Linked DNA regions of Homo sapiens: region 2 is linked to region 1. The links are contacts of gene promoters, found by promoter capture Hi-C in blood cells and fetal thymus (Javierre and others, 2016). All regions are on one chromosome and are shown on one strand. The core of a region is centred on a gene start or on the middle of the fragment in contact, and the rest is flanking DNA. Distances in the headings are between cores, read along the strand shown. Region 1 holds the start of OTUD4 (OTU deubiquitinase 4). Region 2 overlaps LSM6 (LSM6 homolog, U6 small nuclear RNA and mRNA degradation associated).

Region 1 (2,700 bases), core at 137-2,636:
CCTACACAGCCCAGCAGAGCATAATAAAGGGTGGAACCTACTCAAGACAAATCCTTCAAAATATTCTATATTTGTAAAAGGCTGGTTTTCTCAAACGGCAGTTTGCCCATTTGATTCAAGTGACATGGGCGAGCTTGCCTACCCTACATTCCAAAGTCCAGCAGCAAACCAAAATATGTTCCACAAGTAAAGTTTGATCCACCACTTCTAGTAAACACTTGGTTTACTGGAGTGGGGTGAGCGTGGTGCTTCTCAAACGAAGGGAAGGAAGGTGAATGCGGAACAAAAGTAAAAAATATCATGTCGCCAGGTCCCCAGCAATAAATCAACTGTACAAGCTCCGAGCAGGCCTCACAAGTTGTCCTCAACTCATTACCTCTTCATCAGGAGAGAGACACCCCGTTAATTTGCGGGCTTTCGAGTTTCAATTTGCACCTTTCAGACGCAAAGCAGCGTCCCACTCCGGCGTTACAATGGGGCGCTGTGACGACAGCCAGGGCACGCGCAGCCCCGGCCGTGGGCGGCCCGGACAGCCCGCAGCTGCCTCCCCACCCAGACCCGCCGGGCCGTCCCCGCCTCCCCTCGAAGCCCTCCCCGCCCCCCCGCAATTACCTGCTCCGCCACGGCCCGGAACAGGCACGACCCGTCCTTGGCGACCAGTTTCCGATACAAGCCCAGTTTCCGCAGATAGGCGTCCATGGGCGTCGCGTCCTCGCGGGGCCCCGCGCCGCCCTGGTCCCCGCCGTCGGGGACGCCGACGGCAGCCTCCATGTTGCTGGTCCTGCTGCAGGCCAGGCGCGGCGAGGGCTAGCCCCACATGGCCAGGCCGCCGGCTGCTCGACGCCCCGGCCTGGGGCAGGCGGCGGCTCGGGCTGGGGCTCGGGCTCCGCGAGCGGCGGCAGGCGGCGGCGGCCCGAGGCAGCGGTCCGCGCTCTCCGGGCGCATAGGGAAGCCCTGCCTAATGCATGGCTGTCCGCACGCGGCCGCCTCCTCGGAGCGAACACGCGCCCACGACAAACGGGGGGAGCGGGATTAAGGAAAACCCCGAGAGTGAGTAGTCACTTCCCGACGGCCTCGCTGCCTGACTCAGGACCCAGGCCGGGGGTCGCCGCCCCCACAAGTTTCCTCCTCCGTACCGGTGTGAAGCGAGAAAACCCCCGCCCCTGGCGCGCACGCTGGGCCGGCTCAGGTGAAGCGGGGCCTGCGCCCCCGCGCACTCCCCACGCCGGGAGCCGAGGAAACCAAAAAGAAAGACGCGGCCTTTCGTTTCCCCACCTCGCTGGAGGGCGCCGGAGGGGCAGGGAGCGGGTGGGGGCGCCCGGGAGAGAACAGCACCTCGCAGCCCAGAATTTGTTTTCGCTTTCGGCCCGACAGCGGAGAGGACGGCGGGAGATGTAGTCTTGGCAGCCGCAGGAAGTCGGCTTGCGGCGGGCGGGGACGCGCTGGCCGGCCTACCCGGGGGAGGTGCCCGGGAGGCGCGCGGACTACAAGTCCCTACAGCGCGGGCGCGCCGCCGCCACCGCCACCGCCCCAAGCCGGCTTCGCGCTGCACTGGCGCCGCGTCCGCGAGCAGGCCGAGGGGCTCCGCCGGCCGATGTGGGGCGACCTGCGCGCGCCACCCGCCAACCCTGCCGCTGCGCCGCGGGAATCGCGCGCGCCGGGCTGGCGTGGAGTTGCCAGGGACACGGCGGCGCAGTGTCGGCCCTTTGTGTATTTCTTTCCAGAGGGCGCACCTGTCTGCTCCCTTCCCCCCGGCCTGCTCTCCTGGTGTTTCCATGGAGGTGGCTTTAACGGCTTAAGCAGAAAATAGAGCTAATTGGCTGAGGCTCCGGGAACTGGCACGGTGCGGGACGACACACTCTGTCCATAAATCAACCGTGGACTGCTGATTGCTATTAGTAGTACAGCTCACGTACTACGGCAAGATGAAGGCTTTGCCAAAGACATTTTTGTTCACCCTGTCACTGTAGCTGAGCACCCCATCACAGAGACATGTCACTGTCGGAAGACGTTAGGGTTTTTTTTTCCCCCTTAAAAAATTCATCTTGTAAATTGCTTGATAACATGCTGACTGGACTGGCCATGGCTTCCACCAGTGCTCGAGGCTTCAGCTCAACTTCCCACCCTCCGACGTTGAATGGCAGGGAATTGACAAAGTTAAATTATGCTTTAGAACCCAGAATTTATCCAGCATGCTTCTGTTGCACCAAAATTTTATTTTGCTAAGATACAACATCTGGTGTCCTTATTTAAATACATGGTTAATCATAGGAACTAATTCAGTCTTTTAGGCTATGGTGGAGGAGAGGGAGAAGAAAAGGGAGCATTACTATAGGTTTAGACATGTAGTCAAATACCTTGGAATGGGGGGCAAGGCAGGCCAGGTGGTGAGAGTCCAACGACAAAAATTTTTTAAAAACTACGTTAGACACTTTTCAGTATTTTCAGTGCAAGCAATCAGTCATGTATTCACTTTCCTTGGAGCGTCTTTGATTTCTTAATGTTTAAATATTGTATCTCAAATTATGCTGCTTTTAGAGAATACAAACGTTATCGTTACCTAAATGAAAAAATGTCCCTGCCTCAAATTTACTTGTTGTAGCGAAGAAACACTTTGAAATCAGGTTTAGAAAAGTATAGTTTCAGCTGGGCGTGGTGGCTCACGCCTGTAATCCCAGCACTTTGGGAGGCCGAGGCAGC
Region 2 (2,700 bases), core at 103-2,602, 1.0 Mb after region 1:
TTGCATAATTTGGCAGTTCGTCCTATTTGTCCCTTCTCTATTAAACATTCAGATGCTTTCTATGCAGATTTGCATCCTTCAGTTTGGCAAAAATGGCAAAATAGAAAAAGTTACTCAGTTTTTAACAACTAATAAATTGCTATGATTTTTATAGTTATTTTTAAGTACCTAGTTTAAAAATGAAAATTATAATAAAGTCATATTTGTATTTTTGGTGGGGAGGGAAAGATATCAGAATTATGAGAATTACCCCACTTTTTGGTTCCATCTCCCAGAAACTCTGGGATTCTTGAGTTCAGATTTTTTGTTGATTTCTTTAATTCTGGATGTCTTCAACCCCCTAAATAGTTGGATCTCTTTGCTATAAACTAAACTTCCTGACTTTTATAATAAGAGTCTGTCCCCTATGCTTACAGGACCTTATTTCTTCATATCATATTTTTACATACATTATTTCCTGGCTTTCTAGTCCTTTCTATTTATAGAATTATTTATCCTATTTTTCATATCCTTATTTGACCTCCTCTTTTTCCTAAGAAATGTTATGATCTTGTCTCACCTCAAGACAGCTAATGGCAGCAGTCACTGGCAGGTTGGGTTCTGTGCGTGTTGATAGGGTAGATCCTTTAACGTGCACACTACCCCTAGGACTTGGGGGGCAGGGTTGGGGGGCGGCTGTACTGGCATTCTGATGCTTCCCTTCATGTCACATTTCCCATGATGTAATCAGTGACACTCATCTTTAGACTCCCAAGTTCACATCATTGGCTCTTAAAGAGGATCTTGACTTATTTGATTCATCTGTGCTATGTTCTTTGATGAAGACACCTTACTGTTCGCTTTGAGCAGACCTCTCAGAAGCCGAGTAGGCATGGAAGGTGGAAGGGAGAACCACCTCTAGTTTGGCCAAAGTGACCCAAGCATTTCATTTTGTTTCATTCCTACGGACCACACATCCTACGAGTTCATGTTGGTAGTCATGAGAAGACCACTAAGCAGAACATTAGGTAACACCAAAGTATGAGACTTTTAACGGGAACTCAGAATAAGGACTTTGGTATCATTAAAAAATAAAAATAAAAAATAAACTCCTTAGCTCTTGTTTATCCTGTTGCATTTAAGAAGGTAAACAGCAAGTTTAGAGTTTGTATTGGGGAGACAGATGAAAATATGTTGTTTATTCTTAATTTGAGATCTAGCCTGGTTAGATTTACTGATTTACTTTCTGAAAAGCATCTTTTTTTTTTTTTTTTTTTCCTGAGATGAAGTCTCGCTCTGTGGCCCAGGCTGGAGTGTAGTTGTGCAATCTCAGCTCACTGCAGCCTCTGCCTCCCAAGCTCAAGCAGTCCTCCCACCTCAGCGTTCTAAGTCGCTGGGACTACAAGTGCATATACCACCATGCCTGGTTAATTTTTTGTATTTTTGGTAGAAACGGGGTTTCACCATGTTGCCCAGGCTGGTCTCAAACTTCTGAGCTCAAGTGATCCACCCGCTTCAGCCTCCCAAAGTGCTAAGATTGCAGGCGTGAGCCACCGTGTTCAGCCCTGAAAAGCATAATTCTTATACTTCTAACTATAAAGCATTCTTAGATACCAGGGACTTTCACATATATTTTATTTTATCTTCCTGGTCACACTTTAAAGAGTCAGTGAGACACATGGATGAAATTAGGACAGTTTTGTAAGACATCAAACCTGGGTGTAGATTCATAAAACTAGTCTTACAGTACTTCTAGAGTTAATTGAATGATACGAGAATTCCTTTTAAATGTCAGATGTATCAGACCAAAATCTGTTGGCTTTTAAACTTGCTACTATGTATACTTACAAGCAGGGTTTTTTAAATTTCAATTTATGTATTTTTTTCTTTTCAGTGTTGTACATCAGTACACAGAAGAGACGGATGTGAAGACACCAAGAGAGCAACGCTTTTCATAGTTGGATATATTTTTTTATGAATTTTTTCTAATTTTTGCTTCTTTTGTGATACAATTTGTCCTCTTTTTATAATAGTTGGTGATTTTTCACTGACATGTGAGTAAGATAAATGTATACAATTGTGGATTTAATTGTGAAATGTTCTTTCACTTGTAAGTTTCAGTCATTTTCTTTTACCTCGTTGTCAGTGTACAGAATGCTAAAATAATTAAAAAAAGACAAAATATACCTCTTCCTACAAGATTATTTAACTTAAGTTTCGAGAAGTGTCATTTCATTTGACTTGCTTTTCTTATCCAGCTAAAATGATGCATATATTTTATATATTGTATGGACATATAATTAAAACATTTTGGAGGAATCCTCCTTTATTGCATCCTTTTCTGTTCATACAGAATCCTTGCGTGAATATGTTCTACAAAGGCATCCAGTTTCAGTCTGAAGCTACAAAAAGGGGCCACAGGATCAGAAGTTCAGCCACTGATTGAGTCACCTAAATAAAAAACAGAATTGGAAAGCCAAGAGTGCCACTTGCACATAAGGAGTGGGAATTCGAACTGAGGTGCTGGAGAAATCCTAAAGATGAACAAGATTTCAGTGAGGAGAAAGCCCTCCTGTCAGTGGTCCCCCTGCATCTCCTTATGCAATTAGACTTTTTAGGTTTCCCTGCTCCCTTTCAGGAGCATTGGCATCAACGTTATTCTCTCAGTTTATGAACACAGTAGGGGAGGGGCCATTCCTGTACATCTCTCACAGTCAGATT

Evidence for each region. Contacts are between HindIII fragments. The CHiCAGO score rates a contact against its expected background, and 5 or more counts as called.
Region 2: a contact is called between a fragment that was not itself captured here and the fragment with the promoter of OTUD4 in region 1, in 2 of 17 cell types (total CD8 T cells and naive CD8 T cells). The highest score is 6.6, in total CD8 T cells.

Annotation. Positions count from the first base shown.
Region 1 is chr4:145,179,203-145,181,902 of GRCh38, forward strand. It overlaps OTUD4 (OTU deubiquitinase 4), which reads right to left and starts at 1,387. Exons shown (of 21, transcript NM_001366057.1): 1 at 613-1,387. The coding sequence starts at 771. RefSeq lists enhancers at 489-1,318, 1,319-2,148 and silencers at 494-953, 1,074-1,303, 1,394-1,793. The HindIII fragment of the contact is 3,984 bases long and covers 1-2,700 here.
Region 2 is chr4:146,187,749-146,190,448 of GRCh38, forward strand. It overlaps LSM6 (LSM6 homolog, U6 small nuclear RNA and mRNA degradation associated), which reads left to right. Exons shown (of 4, transcript NM_007080.3): 4 at 1,874-2,700. The coding sequence ends at 1,908. Among named protein-coding and RNA genes, the nearest start is that of LSM6, 13 kb to the left of the region's middle. The HindIII fragment of the contact is 5,853 bases long and covers 1-2,700 here.